Regions from separate parts of the Homo sapiens genome. Here regions 1 and 2 are each linked to region 3. Evidence: promoter capture Hi-C in 16 types of primary human blood cells and fetal thymus (Javierre and others, 2016). All regions are on one chromosome and are shown on one strand. Each heading gives the region's core, a stretch centred on a gene start or on the middle of the fragment in contact. The rest is flanking DNA. Distances are from core to core; before and after follow the strand shown. Region 1 holds the start of MIGA2 (mitoguardin 2). Region 2 holds the start of DOLK (dolichol kinase). Region 3 holds the start of C9orf50 (chromosome 9 open reading frame 50).

What was found. Contacts are between HindIII fragments. The CHiCAGO score rates a contact against its expected background, and 5 or more counts as called.
Region 1: a contact is called between the fragment with the promoter of MIGA2 here and a fragment that was not itself captured in region 3, in 7 of 17 cell types (endothelial precursors, M0 macrophages, total CD4 T cells and 4 more). The highest score is 12.7, in endothelial precursors.
Region 2: the fragment with the promoter of DOLK here is called in contact with a fragment that was not itself captured in region 3 in 1 of 17 cell types (endothelial precursors); the score reaches 5.1 in endothelial precursors.

Annotation. Positions count from the first base shown.
Region 1 is chr9:129,035,220-129,038,093 of GRCh38, reverse strand. It overlaps MIGA2 (mitoguardin 2), which reads right to left and starts at 1,468. Exons shown (of 16, transcript NM_001329990.2): 1 at 1,413-1,468. RefSeq lists an enhancer at 884-1,013 and a silencer at 1,354-1,483. The HindIII fragment of the contact is 1,706 bases long and covers 1-1,592 here.
Region 2 is chr9:128,946,242-128,949,119 of GRCh38, reverse strand. DOLK (dolichol kinase) reads left to right here and starts at 1,517. Exons shown (of 1, transcript NM_014908.4): 1 at 1,517-2,878. The coding sequence starts at 1,817. NUP188 (nucleoporin 188) reads right to left here and starts at 1,421. Exons shown (of 44, transcript NM_015354.3): 1 at 1,369-1,421. The coding sequence starts at 1,400. RefSeq lists enhancers at 1,302-1,351, 1,071-1,632, 1,702-1,771, 1,633-2,194, 2,195-2,757. The HindIII fragment of the contact is 6,982 bases long and covers 1-2,878 here.
Region 3 is chr9:129,621,012-129,624,077 of GRCh38, reverse strand. It overlaps C9orf50 (chromosome 9 open reading frame 50), which reads left to right and starts at 2,977. Exons shown (of 7, transcript NM_199350.4): 1 at 2,977-3,066. It also overlaps a transcript of NTMT1 not described here. RefSeq lists an enhancer at 2,865-3,066. The HindIII fragment of the contact is 3,526 bases long and covers 1-3,066 here.

The sequences.
Region 1 (2,874 bases), core at 219-2,718, 590 kb after region 3:
CCAACCCCAGGCTGGCTCAGGTCTCAGAAAGAGGGAAGACAAGAACATCAGAGGGCCAGCAGCTACTATTTCCCAAGCTCTTATTCCAGGCCAGATCCAGAACAGGCTCTCCACGACAGGCTTTGGGTCCAGTCCTCTCAGAACCCTCGCAATGGCCAATGTTTATCTCAAGGATGGGGAAACGCGGAGGCTCTGAGATGAGGCAGCCTGCCTGAGGTCACCGAGTACTAAGCGGCCAAGCTCTGGGGGATCTCAAGGCTGTGGCAGGGTTTCCCAGCTTCTGCCTGCTACAACTGCCACTGCTCCTTCCAGGCCACAACTGTAGGACTTCTGGGCCCCCAAGTGAGAAGCCCACATGGTGTTAAAGATGAGCCTGAACAAATAAACGCTACAGGGGTGACTGAGGCCCACTGTTTGCGGGAGAGTCCAGAGCAGCCCCTGCTGTCCCCACTGGGAGGCAGAGCCTGCAGGTGCGAGGTAACATCACCAGCCCCCAAGCCTGCTTCACTCCAGGGATGGATCCAAATCCAGTCAACCCACACTGTGTCCGTCCCCCTGGCACCCTGTCCGTCCTCCAGGGCCTAAGCTGAGACCCCTCCACCTCCTCTCCACAATGAAAAGCCCACGGCAAGGTCCCCTACCAAATGGACACTTCTACTGCTGTGTAGGGCCTGGCCCCACTTGGGCAGCCATCTCTTGTGCCCTACAATCTTAGGCGGACACCTCCTCATTCCACCGTCACCACAGCACTTACAGCACCCTCAGCCTGGGTGCCTAAGCATATCATCCTACGCGCCTCCTCCCCTGCGCTAGACCACCCCACTAATGACTCTGGCCTGTGCACTCACTCATTCCGTCTGGACCCCAACAACGTCCCCGACTCCCTTGAGCCACTCTGCCCAGTCTCCTATTCACCCCATGCCGGACCCCTCAATAGTCCCACCATGCCGGGCACCGGGCATCCCCGCGTTGGACCTCAGCAATATCCCCGTCTTCAGAAATTGCTCACTCCACCCCAGGCATCTTGGGCAGCCCCTTCTTCTCTTGCCCCCACCCCGGAATATCATTGAAACTCACCCAGGTACCCTCTGGCGCCGCTCACGGCCCGCACGCCTGCTCCTTCCATCCCGGGTGCTCTCCCCGCCTCGGATCGGGTACCTGCGCGCCTGCTCCAATCCCCGCCACGTTCCAGGCCCGGGCATCACCTCCCTGACCCAAGTACCTTCTCGTTCCGCTCCCAAGCAAGGCACCCTCTCGCACCGTCCCCGGCCCGGGTACCCACTCATTCCAACCCCGACACCTTCCTGGTCCTGTTGGGCCCGGACACCTGCGCCTACTCGGTCCTCCGCTCAAGTCCCGGCCCTGCCGCGCTGCCCGCCCGCCTTGGGGGCTCGGCCGGGGCCGATACTCACCCGGGATGCCATCGCTGCGGAAGGGCAGCGTCTCCTTCCCCGGCGGCTGCGCAACCAAACCGGCCGCCCGGGGGCGTGGCCTAGCGCCAAGCCCCCACCCTCTTCTGGCCAATGAGCATCGCTGAGTCTCTCAGGGCCGCCGCAGCCTCTGGCCAATTAGGCGGGTCATGTGACCAAGCTTATATTCCGCCTCTCCCGCCCTCTTCCCCTCCTCCTAGTGCGGTTGAAGCGCGAAAGTGGTCTCTTCTCTTCTACTATTGGTCATTCAGATTAGATCGACATGGGCGGCTGGGTGGGGCGGGGCCATTCTTAAAGGGGCTGAAGCGGAGCAGTCAGACCTCCAAGGGGCTTTCTTGGAGTACGCCAAAGCAGGCTGAGCCCTCGTATTAGGATCCTCTATTCTTGTTCCACACAAGGACAAATCCTTCCCACTCTCCAAGCGCCCATTTTCAAATACTACCGCCCCTGACTTCCCGCAGCATGCTCTTATACTGTCGCCACTCTCCCCCTTGTTCTGGAGTTGTTTGCAAAAGTGCCAGGTCTCGCCGCTAGACAGTGTCTCTCTGAGAGCTGGAGTCAAGGGGTCTTCAGTTCTGGCCACCTATCTGGGTCTTACACTAAATACCAGGATTGAGATCAGGCCGACCTGAGATAGAATCAAGTGTTGCCACTTCAGCTCTCTAGAGCTTACCCCTCTATGAAATAGGGATGAGGCCGGGCGCGGTGGCTCACGCCTGTAATCCTAGCAGTTTGGGAGGCCGAGGTGGGTGGATCACGAGGTCAGGAGTTCGAGACCAGCCTGGCCAACCTGGTGAAACCCTGTCTCCACTAAAGATTAAAAAAAAAAATTAGCCAAGCTTGGTAGCACACACCTGTAATCCCAGCTACTCAGGAGGCTGAGGCAGGAGAATCTCTTGAACCCGGGAGGCAGAGGTTGCAGTGAGCTGAGATCCACCCATTGCACTCCAACCTGGGCCAAAGGGCGAGACTCCGTCTCAAAAAGAAAAAAAGAAATAGGGATAAAATCTTCCCTTTCCCAAATCATAGGGCTTTGGTGAGGATGGAAAGAGGACGGTGTATCAGCCCTTCCATAACTGCGAAGAGCTGGGCACAACTACGTTTTAAAATTGTAATCGTCGGCCGGTAGCAGTGGCTCATGCCTCTATTCCCAGCACTTTGGGAGGCTGAGGTGAGTGGATCACATGAGGTCAGGAGTTCGAGACCAGCCTGGCCAAAATGGTGAAAACCGGTCTCTACTAAAAATAAAAAAGCTAGCTGGGCGTGGTGGCACACACCTATAATCCCAGCTACTTGGGAGGCTGAGGCAGGAGAATTGCTTGAGCCGGGAGGAGGAGATTGCAGTTAACCAAGATCACGCCACTGCACTCCAGCCTGGGCAACAGAGCCAGACTCCATCTCAAAAAAAAAAAAAAAAAAAAAGCCCGGGAGCAGTGGCTCACGC
Region 2 (2,878 bases), core at 268-2,767, 680 kb after region 3:
CATTTTGTCTGCTCTCTAAAAGCAAAAAATCTCAATATACAAAACGATTTGTTAAATTTTTGGAAAGTAATCTTGTTATATAATAATATTGTTAGGGCCGGGCACGGTGGCTCATGCCTGTAATCCCAGCACTTTGGGAGGTCGAGGCGGGCGGATCATGAGGTCAGAAGATCGAGACCATCCTGGCTAACACAGTGAAACCCTGTCTCTACTGAAAATACAAAAAATTAGCCAGGCGTTGTGGCGGGTGCCTGTATCCCCAGCTACTTGGGAGGCTGAGGCAGGAGAATGGCATGAACCCGGGAGACAGAGCTTGCAGTGAGCCGAGATCGTGCCATTGCACTCCAGCCTGGGCGACAGAGCGAGACTCCGTCTCAAAAAAAAAAAAAAAAAAAAAAAAAAAAAAAAGTGGGGAAAACACTGCTGGCACAGGGAAGGATAAGAGACGGGGATGTTTAACTTTGAGGGAGGGTGGTGGGAAGAACGAAGACCTTCGAGCTGCAATGTGGAAGACAGAAGGAGGCGTGGTGGTCTGGTTATAGCACTGGAGGTACGCAGACTTCAGCTTGAAGGCTCTCTTTATCACTTGGCTAGCTCTGAGCCGGACTTCTGAGTCATCTGTGAAATAGAAGGCGCCTCTCGGAGTTGCGAGAATTGAATGAGATAACTCCTGGGAAGCGCTCCACCAGGGTCTGACGCTAGAAAGCACTTTGTCAGAATTGTAGTTTTCGTATATAATATTTCATCTTCTTGTCCCTAAAGCCTAGTTCAATCCCTGAAATCTCTTGGAGGATTTGGACATGCTGGCTGACTTGATTCAGTGCAAGAAAAGAACGATACGAGGCGCGGAGAGGACAGAAGCCGCAAGCGTGGCTCCGCTCAACGCGAAACAAAATCCTAACAAGAACAGATCGCGGGAGAGGTCGGGGAGCCAGCAGGGCGCACTCGACGCCGGGGCAGGACACTGGGAGCCTGCAGCAGGGACGTGGGTGGGGGGTACCCCAGGAGACCGCAAAGCTCCCCGTGGCTCGAGGGAGCGTCACGGCCGGAGAAGGAAGCGCGGGTGGGGCGCCAAGAGACGCGTCGGAGGTGAGAGAGGAGGAAGGCAAAGGGCCCTGGGTGAGGAGATGGGAGGCCGAGCGCGGAGGGAAGGGGTGAAGAGCCGGCCCCCCTCCTGAAGAAGACTCTTCAGATCCCCGCGCGCGGGGACCGTTTGGACGTAACCGCCTCCCGTCTCGGTGCCCGTCCATCCAGCCGGGGTTGGCCCTGCCACTGTCGCCACATCCCGCCTCCAATTCCCGCCCCGCTTCCGCTCGGCTTTGACACCGCGCTTCACAGCCACCCCGGTCCATTCGACCCGCTCCGCACCTCACACACGGCCCGCCGGCGGCCGCCGCCATCTTCGCGCGCCCGCTCGCCCTAACCCCGCCCCCAGACGCCATGCCCACGTGACCGCTCGCCCCCGGACCCGGAGCGTGGGCGGGGATTTCGTCACGTGACGTTGCCGCGGGGCGGTGCCAAGATGGCGAGGCCCAAAGAGGTGAGGAGCCGGCAGCGGGGGCGGCTGTAACTGTGAGGAAGGCTGCAGAGTGGCGACGTCTACGCCGTAGGTTGGAGGCTGTGGGGGGTGGCCGGGCGCCAGCTCCCAGGCCGCAGAAGTGACCTGCGGTGGAGTTCCCTCCTCGCTGCTGGAGAACGGAGGGAGAAGGTTGCTGGCCGGGTGAAAGTGCCTCCCTCTGCTTGACGGGGCTGAGGGGCCCGAAGTCTAGGGCGTCCGTAGTCGCCCCGGCCTCCGTGAAGCCCCAGGTCTAGAGATATGACCCGAGAGTGCCCATCTCCGGCCCCGGGGCCTGGGGCTCCGCTGAGTGGATCGGTGCTGGCAGAGGCGGCAGTAGTGTTTGCAGTGGTGCTGAGCATCCACGCAACCGTATGGGACCGATACTCGTGGTGCGCCGTGGCCCTCGCAGTGCAGGCCTTCTACGTCCAATACAAGTGGGACCGGCTGCTACAGCAGGGAAGCGCCGTCTTCCAGTTCCGAATGTCCGCAAACAGTGGCCTATTGCCCGCCTCCATGGTCATGCCTTTGCTTGGACTAGTCATGAAGGAGCGGTGCCAGACTGCTGGGAACCCGTTCTTTGAGCGTTTTGGCATTGTGGTGGCAGCCACTGGCATGGCAGTGGCCCTCTTCTCATCAGTGTTGGCGCTCGGCATCACTCGCCCAGTGCCAACCAACACTTGTGTCATCTTGGGCTTGGCTGGAGGTGTTATCATTTATATCATGAAGCACTCGTTGAGCGTGGGGGAGGTGATCGAAGTCCTGGAAGTCCTTCTGATCTTCGTTTATCTCAACATGATCCTGCTGTACCTGCTGCCCCGCTGCTTCACCCCTGGTGAGGCACTGCTGGTATTGGGTGGCATTAGCTTTGTCCTCAACCAGCTCATCAAGCGCTCTCTGACACTGGTGGAAAGTCAGGGGGACCCAGTGGACTTCTTCCTGCTGGTGGTGGTAGTAGGGATGGTACTCATGGGCATTTTCTTCAGCACTCTGTTTGTCTTCATGGACTCAGGCACCTGGGCCTCCTCCATCTTCTTCCACCTCATGACCTGTGTGCTGAGCCTTGGTGTGGTCCTACCCTGGCTGCACCGGCTCATCCGCAGGAATCCCCTGCTCTGGCTTCTTCAGTTTCTCTTCCAGACAGACACCCGCATCTACCTCCTAGCCTATTGGTCTCTGCTGGCCACCTTGGCCTGCCTGGTGGTGCTGTACCAGAATGCCAAGCGGTCATCTTCCGAGTCCAAGAAGCACCAGGCCCCCACCATCGCCCGAAAGTATTTCCACCTCATTGTGGTAGCCACCTACATCCCAGGTATCATCTTT
Region 3 (3,066 bases), core at 181-2,680:
TCACGCCTGTAATCTCAGCACTTTGGGAGGCCGAGGCAGGTGGATCACAAGGGCAGGAGATCGAGACCATCCTGGCTAACACGGTGAAACCCCGTCTCTACTAAAAATACAAAAAAATTAGCCGGGCGTGGTGGTGGGCACCTGTAATCCCAGCTACTCGGGAGGCTGAGGCAGGAGAATGGGGTGAACCCAGGATGCGGAGCTTGCAGTGAGCTGAGATCGCGACTCCGTCTCCAAAAAAAAAAAAAAGAAAAGAAAAGAAAAAAAGAAACCGTCTAGTTAATCTGGTGTTTCGCAGCCATTAAAAAAGACACATACCCTTTAAATAAATACAAAAATATCTCCCTCCCCCACTCAATATTGTAGCTCTCCAGGAAAGTATGTCCCTCCATCCCTGGTGAGAAGCATTGACAGAAAATAGAATATATCTTTGGCGACGCGTTCTCTAGTGAGTCACTCTGTTATTTGAATTACAAAGTCGTTTCTTCATTTTCAAATTATGAAACTATGCCACGCCAGTGAAATACTCATGTAAATGACCTCTGTCTCCCACCCCAGCTTCACAATACTATGAGCTTCCTCTCGGCCCTCTCCCAGCCAAGACTCAGAGATAAGGCCCAGGGAGTCCTGAGAAAGAAGACACTTCTCCAGGATCACACAGCAAAACAGCAGACCATGGACTTGAAAGTGGGTCTGTTAATTTCTTTTCTTCCTTCCTTCCTTCCTTCCTTCTTTTTTTTTTTTTGAGATGGAATCTTGCTCTGTCGCCCAGGCTGGAGTGCAGTGGCGCGATCTCCGCTCACTGCAAGCTCCGCCTCCTGGGTTCACGCCATTCTCCTGCCTCAGCCTCCCGCGTAGCTGGGATTACAGGTACCCGTCACCACAACCAGCTAATTTTTTGTATTTTTAGTAGAGACAGGGTTTCACCGTGTTAGCCAGGATGGTCTCGATCTCCTGACCTCATGATCCACCCGCCTTGTCCTCTCAAAGTGCTGGGATTACAGGCGTGAGCCACCGTGCCCGGCTCTTTCTTTCTTTTTTTTTTTATGGAGATGGAGTCTCACTCTGTTGCCCAGGCTGGAGTGCAGTGGCGTGATCTCGGCTCACTGCAACCTCCGCCTCCCGGGTTCAAGCAATTCTCCTACCTCAGCCCCCCAAGTAGCTGGGACTACAGGCACACGCTGTCACGCCCGGCTAATTTTTTTGTATTTTAGTAGAGACGGGGTTTCACCATGTGGCCCAGGCTGATTGCGAACTCCTGAGCTCAGGCAATCCACCTGCCTCGGTCTCCCAAAGTGTTAGGATTACAGGTATGAGCCACTGGAACCTGGCCTCTTTTTTTTTTGTGAGACAGAGTCTCAAATGATCTGTGTAACGGATTAGAGTTGGAGATGTCAGCATGAGCTCATGTTTAGCTTAATATAAGTACAGATGGTTACCTATAGAAATATTTATAGATATGTGTGTGTTTCATAGTATACACACACATTTCTTTGTCAGCTGAGACTGCCTGAAAGAAATGACATCTCAATAGCAAGAAGCACACCTAGCACCCAGACCTTGGATTATTATTATTATTATTTTTGAGATGGAGTCTCGCTTTGTCACCCAGGCTGGAGTGCAGTGGCATGATCTCAGCTCACTGCAACCTCCGCCTCCCAGGGTCAAGCGATTCTCCTGTCTCAGCCTCCCAAGTAGCTGGGATTATAGGTGCACAACACCATGCATGGCAAATTTTGGTATTTTTTGTAGAGACGAGGTTTCACCATGTTGGCCAGGCTGGTATTGAACTTCTGACCTCAGGTGATCCGCCCGCCTCGGCCTCCCAAAGTGCTGGGATTACAGGCGTGAGACACCGTGCCCCGCAGGGTCTGTTCATTTCTAGGTCCATTGTATTCTGACTGCCTGGTCTTGGGGTGGAAGTTCTACTTCCAGAGCCACCCAGCCTAAGCCTCCCAGATCTGGAAAGGGTAGGCCTGGCTGCCCTGGTCAGAGTCCCAGTGCCCCAGGTGGCTGCGGCCAGGGCATCCAGGGCACAATAGCCCCACCCTTAGTCCCCAGGCCTCAGTGCCCACTGCTACTCAGATGCCCAGGGGTGAGGGGCGGATCACAATGACCCTGAAGCGGCCCAGAGGCAGCCGGGAGGGGCTGGGAGAGGCACCAGGCAGGGATGATGGGCTCTACAGCCTGCCTGTAGAGAGCTCTAAACTCACAGGACCTTCTAGGGCCCCACCCAGAAGCCCACCAGGGTGAGTGTGACACTGCCCAGGAGTCAGCTCAGAGCTGACAACAATCTGGGAGTGGGGTGTGGTTGGGAGGAAGCAGGCTTAGAAACCCCTCAGTGTCAGAGCTGGGAGTAAGACTGGGGCTCTGCCTCCCAAAGGGGGAGTTTGTTAAAAGTCTGTGTCTTGGCCAGAAGTGGGGACTCACGCCTGTGATCCCAGCACTTTGGGAGGCCAAGGCAAGTGGATCACTTGAGCCCAGGAGTTCAAGACCAGCCCGTGCAACATAAATACAAAAAAATTCTACCCCATTTCTACAAAATATACAAAAATTAGCCAACTGTGGTGGTGTGTGCCTGTAGTCCCAGCTACTCAGGAGGCTGAGGCAGGAGGATCACTTGAGCCCAAGAATTTGAGGCTGCAGTGAGCTATGATGGTGCCATTGCACTCCAGCCTGGGTGACAGCAGGACCCCGTCTTAGCAAGACCCCATCTCTTTAACAACAACAACAAGAACAACAAACTGTCTTGGCTCCAGCAGAGACGTACTGAATCAGAATGGGGGCTGGGGGTAAGTCATCTGTATTTTCAACAGGCTCCCCACCCAGGGGTCTCTGAGGCAGCACCAGGGCTGGGAGGCTGCTGGTCAGGTCTCTCTTCCCTCAAGCTGGTTCCAGGTTTCCTAATTCCCAGTAGAGCGCTAATGACGGTAACAGTTCCACGCTTTGAACACTGCAAGGCAGGCTAAGTGCTCTCTCTACCAGCGGTGATGCGGTGATGCCGTTTCACGGCTGCAGAGAGGCAGGTGCTGCTATTATCCCCATTCTGCAGACCAGAGCCCCCAG